Regions from separate parts of the Homo sapiens genome. Here regions 2 and 3 are each linked to region 1. The links are contacts of gene promoters, found by promoter capture Hi-C in blood cells and fetal thymus (Javierre and others, 2016). All regions are on one chromosome and are shown on one strand. The core of a region is centred on a gene start or on the middle of the fragment in contact, and the rest is flanking DNA. Distances in the headings are between cores, read along the strand shown.

Region 1 (2,873 bases), core at 204-2,703:
GAGGCGGGACACCCGGGGGGTTGGACCCACGCAGGACTCTCGGGGCTCAAGGAGGGGGCGGCTGGAGGACCCGGACCCTCAAGAACCTGGCCTTGGGTTTTGACCCGGGCGGCCGGAGAGAAGGCGAAGAAGAGGCCGAGCAGACAGGCGCGCGGCGGACGCGAGAGAAGGACGCGGGCGAAGCGTCCAAGACGTTCGTCCCCAGGGTCGCCGAGCCCTCCTCCTCCTTCGCTTGGCGCGGCAGCACCGCGGGACCAGGGGAGTCTGGGCTGCCGCGGACCCAAACTGTTGCTGCTGGAAGCCGCCGGGGCGGAGAGCGGGGAACAGGGCCGGGAGTGGGGGCCGGGGCTGGGATCCACCAGAGCGAGGGGTTGGAAAGGAGTCGAGAAGGTGAAAGGGGGCTGTGCGGCTCCCCAGCCCAGTGCCCCAGTTTCCCTAGGTCTGCTGGGCACCTGCTGCGCACTCGCCTCGGCGCCCAGACCCCTTCCCCCGCCGCGAGTCCCGCTTCTTCCCCTTCCAGCTCTGCCCCATCTCCTTTGCCCCAGCCTAGCTCTCTCCTTCCTGCGACCTGGGAGAATCGGAGTGGGCTTCCAGAGTAGTGGCATCTTGCAGATGCTGGCCCGTGCCCGGCTCCCGGGCTTCCAGAGCGCAAAGGGAAGGGTAGGCAGAGAGGGCACTGGGCGAGCAAGACCTGGCGCTGGGCCCTGGCTGCGCACCAGCCGCCTGCGCCGGTCTCTGGGGGCTTCGCCCAGGATCCCCGACGGCGGGGAGGGGAAGCCCCGAGTCTCCTGTTTCCTGCCTACGCGGGCAGGGCGGGGACACGCGGAGCAAAGGCACCCGGCAACCTGAACCCCCAGGTGCGTCCCGCGACCCTGCAAGGAGCTGCTGGGTGAGCAAGACGGGAATTCCCGCCAGGCCCTGATGCCCACCCCATTCGTCCACTCGGTTTCCCAGCCCTGGTCGTCCAAGGGGACTTCTGGCTCGGTCCCCCAGCCCTCGGATGGTGGCGTTATCTTAGTTCAGTCCCTGACCCCGGGCCACAGGAAAATCGAGGAAAGACACTTATTTGGGGAGGGTACCATTCCGCTGGCTGTATTTCAGAGCCCGTCCAGGTCTTGGCGGTGCTAGTGACTTTGAGCCTGTTTCTAAACTCCCGAAGAATAAGAGCGTGCCAGGGGCAGGTAGGCAGGTCCGGGACACCTGGGTTCGCCCAGGGCCCCCGGGCGGGCCTGGGATGGTACTGGGGCCGCCTGCCAGGCTGGCTTGGTCCCCCCACTGCGGGACTCGGGGTCACGACCCAGCTTGGGGGAGTGGGGGTGGGGGCCCCGGAGCCGCGGACGCCGGCGGGGGGCAGCGTGGGGCGGGGGGCGCCGGGTGCGTGGTGCTCAGCTTGGCCGCCAGGAGGCGTGGCGCGGGTCCCCGCCCGGAGCCGCCGCCGCCGCCGCCGCCGCCGCATCGCGAGTGTCCTTGAGCCGCGGGTGACGGTGGCTCTCGCTGCTCGCGCCCCCTCCTCCCGCGGGGGGAGCCTGATGCCACGTTCCCTATGAATTATTTATCGCCGGCCTAAAAATACCCCGAACTTCACAGCCCGAGTGTAAGAGATTGCTGCGGAGGGGAGGGGGCGGGGCGTCCCGGTGGCCAGGGGGAGTCCGGGCGGGGTCCGCGGAGACGGGGGCCGTAGCCTTGGAGGAGCAAGAACTCCGTGCCCCCAGCAGTGGGGCAAGCTAGAACGGCGGTCCTCTCCCCTGGCGCCTGGGTTCGGGTTTTGGCTGGGCAAAAGGGAGGGAGGGAAACCCGACGGCAAAGGAGGGGCGGCTCACCGGAAGGGCAGGGGGTCCGGGGGTTCTGCTGGTGGGTGGGGAGGACTCCTGCGACAGAGTTTCCTAGCCTGGGAGAGGGAGAGCCATCGGTATCTCAGATGTGAGCGGGTATGAGTGCGGGAGTGTGCATGTGTGTGCAGGTCCGTGCCAGGGGGTCTGGCTGAGCTGTGAGGACCCGGGAAGGAGAAGGCCCCCAGCCTGGGAAGGTGCTCAGACCCTTCTAGATGCTGCTGTGTCCTGCAGGACTGACCACTGCCATCCTCTCTGGGGCTCTTTGGGGATCTCTGTGTTTGTCAAACATTAGTTTAAGGGCTGTTTGTGGAAGGGGTGAGACCCTGAGTGGGTGGGTGGGCAGAGGTCTCTGAGACAATGTGTCTGCCCTCAAGGAGCCCGCAGTCCAGTGTGGGGCAGGGTGTTAATGAGTGCACACACACCTGCCGCAGGGCAGAATGGAGGGGTGGAGGGGACCACTACACAGAGCTCCCCACCCAGGAGGGGAAGCCAGGGCAGGGGGAAGAAGGGCAGGTGCCCCAGCCTGGCCGCAGTCCCTGCGCCTAGAGCCTGAGGCATCAAGGCAGGTGCCTGTGGGAGAGGGATTTCAGCTGGGCCCTGAAGGAGAGTAGACTTCTGTTGGGATGAGGACATTCCAGCCTGGGGGATGCTGGAACGAGGCCTGGAGATGAGGGCAGAATGGGGCTGTTTGGCCAGCAGACTGGCAGAGCTGTGGGTTCCAGGGATGGGAGGACGGTTGGTTGCGGTCAGGGTGCAGAGGGCTCTGTCTATGGGACTAAGCTGTCTGGACTTCATTTGTGGGCACCAGGGTGTAGCTGTCCTGTGTGAGGAGGGAGCAGTGGCTGGAGGAAGGCTTCAGCAGTGCAGTGGGGCTGGCGGGGGTGGGTAGGTGGGAGGTGGGGAGGGGGAGGCAAGGGAGGAGATTGTGGCGGGGGAAAGTGGAGTTTGTCCCTCCTACCTCTGTAGGGTGGCTGGGTTAGACGGGGTGATGAGACAGAATTCGGAAGCTCCTTGAGTCTGCCCCTTGCTATTTGGAGCCCA
Region 2 (2,873 bases), core at 121-2,620, 420 kb after region 1:
CAGCAACCAAGCTTTCCTGGTCTGACAGTGACCACTAGTGGCTGGCAGGGGAATGGCATTATCTAACTCTCTTCTGTGAGGCTGCCACCCTTTTTCCTTTTTTAGGGGGATTGTGAGGTTGTTTATACATGGTTTACCTCCTTACTGTTTTCTACCATTCCTGGCTACTTAATTTCTAATAGGCAAACAAAAGCCCTAAATCCCACAGTTGATAGAAATTGTCCCTCTTTTCAACACAGAAGCAAAAAAAAAAAAAAATTCTGTCCATAATTGTTATGTGAAAGAACACTTACTAAATCAGGGGCAATGCAACTCATAAAATTAAGTGAAATGGACACAATAAAGAGGATCCATTTTCAAAGTCCCTTCAAATAGTCTCCATGCCACTTGAAAATATTTAGGTCGTCTTAGCCATCTCAGCTACCTCATCTTTCAATTAAGCTTGCTTAAGATTAACTCTTAAAATTAACTATCTCATGTAAATGTACTGTTGTTTTCCTAAATAACTGGCGTTCTAATGGCTAGTTTCTCTTTACTTCTAATGCAGGACTTAAATAAGCTTCTGTAGGGGACTTTGTAAATCAATAAAGCACCAACTGCATTTTATTTACAAGTGCTGGAAAGAGGAGTAAGAGAGGGCTAAGAGGTAAGGAGTAGGCTGGGTGCGGTGGCTCATGCTGTAATCCCAGCACTTTTGGCGGGCAGATCACGAGGTCAGGAGTTCCAGACCAGCCTGACCAACATGCTGAAACCACGTCTCTACTAAAAATACAAAAATTAGCCAGGTGTGGTGGCGTGCGCCTGTAATCCCAGCTACTCAGGAGGCTGAGGCAGAAGAATCCCTTGAACCTGGGAGGCAGAAGATTGCAGTGAGCCGAGATTGCGCCACTGCACTCCAGCCTGGGTGACGGAGCGAGACTCCATCTCAAAAACCAAAAACAACAACGACAACAACAACAACAACAAAAAAGGGAAGGCGTAATATGGACCCACTCCTGGGAGATAATTTATGGATAACAACAAGCTGTGGGATCCTAAATGTTCAACTTCATCTTGGGCTCCACAGCCAAACCAGCCAGAACTTGGGCTTGAAGCTGGACGTAGGGAAGAGAACCCTCAGAACTGCCACTTAGACTCCGGACACCTGCACTTTCAAGGGCTTTTCACCCCACCTCCCTCGGCCAGGGCCCAGTTTAGAACAGGCAATTACTCCAAATCAGCAAATATTGACTGTGCGCCTGGGAAGGAAAGGCCCTGTTGTTCCCAGAGCTGTGGAAAATACAAACATGAACAAACGTAGTCCCTGACTTGATGGCATTTAAAATCTATCAAGAGAGATAAGGTAGGTACTCACAAAAATTACACAAGGAAGAATATGATTAAGGGCCACACAACGGAATTTACCTGCAGGAGAGAGACAGGGGCTACAGGAACACAGAAGAGAAACAGGCAGAGTAGAGAAAGACTGTTCCGCAGAGTTTTACTCAGAATCTAATAAAAAAACATACCAGGTCCCAGACACTGCCAAGAGACAGGGACACCCAAAAGCTAAGCCCTGAAGAATGTGAGGAAGGACTGAGCAGGTGAAGGGAACAAGGAGAGGGACGTGCAAGGCAGAAAAGATGGTGTGAATCAAAGCCCTTTGAGCCCAAGTCCAGAGCAAGTTAAAAAAGAATTCAGTTTGCCAAGTATCAGCTGAGTCTGCAAAGGGAGGCTGCAGCTGCTGGCTGACACATTGGAAATGCTACAGGGGTGGGGCTGGGGGCATTATCCTAAAGGCAACAGGCAGCCACTGAAGGCTGCTTTTAGCATCATGGGGGCATAGCCAGGGTTGCGCTTTTAGGAAAAGAGTCTGGCAAAAATGCACAGGCAATCGATTTGTTGGGGGGCACATTCATTCCAGTTTAAAGGTCAAGGCCAAAGGTAAAGCCATAATGGCCAGCTCTGAAAGATCCTTTCCAAAAAACAATCGAAGGACTGGTTGGATGGCGGAGGTGGGGGAAAAGGATACTAAAGCCCATACTACAAGTTCAAATCTAACAGGCATGTCATTACAGAAAACCAAGCCAGGGACCAATGTCACTCATTCTTCTTGATCCATCTTGCCCTAGAAATACTTGCCTGTACCCTGCTGGCTCCAAGAAGCCCACAGGCACTTGGGCTAGGGTCAGGAAAGCTTCACAGCTCTCTGTCCCTAAGCCCCCACCTCCAGTTTCCCCCTGATTTTGTGGTTGGTGACCAGCAACTTCCTTCTGCACCTGACCCTTCAAGTCTTGCTTCTCCTGCCAACCCCCTCAATATAGAAACTTTCAAGGAATGAGAGAGGAGCCTGTACCTGCCCCTCACCGCATCCAGGTACCATGCTGCTGCCCAGCAGCCAGGCTGCTGCTTTTAGTAAGTTGCTGAGTAACTTAACAGCCTCAGAGGAAACAACCTGGTCCCATCCTGAAATATCTTATTTCTCTGGTTCCCCCAGAAATGGAAGGGCAGGTGGGAAGACAGAAATACATGGACTCAGGTGGGAAACCTGGGCTTTCTGGGCGTGGCTCTCATCCACTGCCTAGGACAGGGACCCTCAGAGAGTTAAAGAGAAGCTCAGAAGAGCACAGCTCCAGCCCTCTGATGCCGGGAGTGCACATTCAGCCAATGCCTTTTTTTTTTCTTTTTTTGAGACGGAGTCTCGCTCTGTCGCCCAGGCTGGAGCGCAGTGGCGTGATCTCGGCTCACTGCAAGCTCCGCCTCCCAGGTTCATGCCATTCTCCTGCCTCAGCCTCCCGAGTAGCTGGGACTACAGGCGCCCGCCACCACGCCCGGCTAATTTTTTCTATTTTTAGTAGAGACGGGGTTTCACCGTGTTAGCTAGGATGGTCTCA
Region 3 (2,873 bases), core at 158-2,657, 300 kb after region 1:
GAGCAGGTGTGAGTGAGTGTGGGAGTGTGTGTGAGAGCAGGTGTGTGAGTGTGTGAGTGTGTGTGAGAGCAAGTGTGTGAGTGTGTGCAAGAGCTGGTGTGTGGGTGTGTGTGAGAGCAGGTGTGTGTGAGTGTGTGTGAGAGCAGGTGTGTGTGTGAGAGCAGGTGTGTGAGTGTGCATGTGAGAGTGTGTGTGAGAGCAGGCGTGTGTGAGTGAGTGGGCGTGTGAGTGTATTTGTGAAGTTGCGTGAGTGCACATGTGAGAGTGTGTGTGCAGGTGTGAGAGTGTGTGTGAGACAGAGAGTGTGTGCTGGAGGGTAGTGGTGGTGTGTGGATACACTGGCAAGGATGGGGGTTTTGGAACCTAAGCCTAACCTTCGGCATGTTGATTTTCAGCGAGATGGGGGACACCAACATGGGAGAAGGTGGTCATCCTCTGGTCTGGGTTTATAAAATGCCCACCCGGCCCCAGAGCAGGGCATCCATTGGGATGGGGTTGGGGGGATGCTCTGTTACTCCAGTCAGGCTTTGGTCTGCCTATTGGAAGACGATGGTCCTAGAACATCTGTCCAGCTGCCTCCTTGAGCGTCCTCTGCTTTATGAAGTCAGAACCATGCAGGTACCAGGTACTCAGCTGGGAAGAGTCAGGCGTAGGGCACTGAACCTCTGTTCTTTATCCTCAGCCTCCAGTACTGAGAACTCTGTGAAGACACCTGCATCTCCCACCAGGCCCAGCCAATGCCAAGGGTAAAATGCACGTGTCCCAGTGTCTTTTGCCATGTGTGCAGCTTCTTTCCTAGGGTGGGGCTTCCTAGACACAGGTTTCCTTGATTATTCACCCACTCAACATTTATTTATTTATTTATTTTTTGAGACAGAGTCTAGCTCTATCGCCGAGGCTGGACTGCAGTGGCACGATCTCGGCTCACTGCAAACTCCGCCTCCCGGGTTCACGCCATTCTCCTGCCTCAGCCTCCTGAGTAGCTGGGACTACAGGCGCCCGCCACTAGGCCCGGCTAATTTTTTTTTTTGTATTTTTAGTAGAGACGGGGGTTTCACCATGTTAGCCAGGATGGTCTCGATCTCCTGACCTCGTGATCTGCCCGCCTCGGCCTCCCAAAGTGCTGGGATTACAGGTGTGAGCCACCGTGCTCGGCCAACAGGTGTTTATTTGTTATGCGCCAGAAACTGATGGAGATTCTAGAGATGCAACAGTGAACAAAGGGGCAAGATTGTGCTCTTGAGGAAGTTGCAAATAGGTAGATTCAGGCAATGGCCAGATGGATAGATAGATAGACAGACAGACAGGTGGACAGACAGATAGATGGATAGATAGATAGATAGATAGATAGATAGATAGGTGGATAGATAGATAAACAGACAGATGATAGATATGATATGAAAGATGATAGAGATGGCTGGCTGGCTGACTGGAAAGACAGATGGAGATGATAGCTGGCAGAGAGAGATATGTAATAGAGACAGAGAGACGATAGATCAAGGAAATATGTCAACGAATGATAATTACTGTGGAGGAAAATAAAGCAGGTGTAAAGAGATAGGGTGCCAGAGTGTGTGGGAAGCTGGTGGGGCATGATTTGGGCTATCAAGGAAATACAAGATGTTCCACAGAAACAAAGAACAAAGGGACTGTCTTAGTTTGGGTTTCCCCCAAATCAGGTCCTGAGACAAGGACTTAGGAGCAATTTGTTTATTGAGAGGTAATCTCAAGAAGTACATTGAGAGAGCAGAAAGTGAGACCAGGAAAGGGGAAGGGCGGTGAAATGTGCTGTAATGAAGGGGTTATCCCCGTAGTAACTGGAGTCACTGGAGATTAACCCCTCTGGGCACCCTATGAGAGACTGTGTAGAACGTTCCTCAGAACTGGAGACAGAGTCTTCCAGGCAGCAGGCACTCCTGGGGGCATGAATTCTGTGGCCCATCTGGCCTGCTCTGCACAGGAAAATGTGTGCACTCTTGTAGATAACCTCAGGCAGAGATGGGGAGCTTGAGCTGGGAAATCCTTGGTGGGGCCAAGACTGCCTGCAGCTGCCAGGAGCTCAAGTGGGCAAAGGTGATATGGGGCAGGGCGCCAACAGGGTTTGTTACAGGGACTCGTCTTAGAGAGGATCAGGGAGGGCATCAGACAAGCCCTGCAGGTAGAGGGCTGGGAAGGTGGAGAGATGGCACAGCGGCCCATTTTGGGGAGAGAATGCAGCATCTGAGGAGTTGGAATGGGAGCAGTGTAGTGGGACCCACGGAGCGAGACGACTGGCCATGGGCTGAGCTTGGAGAGTTCACTCCTTGGGGTTGAGATTGTTAAGCCGTTTAAGCAAAAGAGCTGTTCTTGTGATCATATTTAATTTGAGTGAAGATGGTTGTAAAGGAGTATTTCATCCTTGAGGTTGTTCCCAGCAAGAGCTGAGTTCCTGCGGGCATCAGTGGCTGAGGGATCTGTTCAGGAAGTTGTTTCTGGGAGCCAGTTCCTGCCTGGGTTAACATATCTCTCTTCTTCTCTATCCCTCACCTCCGGCATCTGTTGGGTCTTGACACTCAAGGTTAATTCTGAGCTGAATGAAGGTCAGGAGCCTGTGACCCTCAGCATGGGGCTGCCTGACCCTGGTACCCACCAGGCTTGATGCTGACATTGGGTTTGAGGGCACAGGACGAGACCTCGAGGGAAGGCGGGGGAGAGGCAGAGCCTGGGACTCCCCGGAGAAGGCAGCTTACTACTAGTCACTCTCTCCGTCTCACAGGTCCCTGCCCAGCAGCACCTGCTTCCTGCTTCTCCCACTCCTGAAGGTGCCTCTGCTCCTGAGCATACTCGGTGCTATCCTCTGGGTGAACAGGCCTTGGAGGACTCCTTGGACAGAG

What was found. Contacts are between HindIII fragments. The CHiCAGO score rates a contact against its expected background, and 5 or more counts as called.
Region 2: a contact is called between a fragment that was not itself captured here and the fragment with the promoter of GRIN2C in region 1, in 1 of 17 cell types (neutrophils). The highest score is 7.0, in neutrophils.
Region 3: a fragment that was not itself captured here is called in contact with the fragment with the promoter of GRIN2C in region 1 in 2 of 17 cell types (naive B cells and naive CD4 T cells); the score reaches 5.4 in naive B cells.

Annotation. Positions count from the first base shown.
Region 1 is chr17:74,858,465-74,861,337 of GRCh38, reverse strand. It overlaps GRIN2C (glutamate ionotropic receptor NMDA type subunit 2C), which reads left to right and starts at 1,453. Exons shown (of 13, transcript NM_000835.6): 1 at 1,453-1,594. RefSeq lists an enhancer at 1-626. The HindIII fragment of the contact is 5,318 bases long and covers 1-2,873 here.
Region 2 is chr17:74,435,015-74,437,887 of GRCh38, reverse strand. The region is part of intron 1 of GPRC5C (G protein-coupled receptor class C group 5 member C); the gene reads right to left. Among named protein-coding and RNA genes, the nearest start is that of GPRC5C, 4.4 kb to the right of the region's middle. The HindIII fragment of the contact is 1,617 bases long and covers 562-2,178 here.
Region 3 is chr17:74,560,707-74,563,579 of GRCh38, reverse strand. It overlaps CD300H (CD300H molecule (gene/pseudogene)), which reads left to right. Exons shown (of 4, transcript NM_001405511.1): 3 at 683-746; 4 at 2,756-2,873. Among named protein-coding and RNA genes, the nearest start is that of CD300H, 5.4 kb to the left of the region's middle. The HindIII fragment of the contact is 9,141 bases long and covers 1-2,873 here.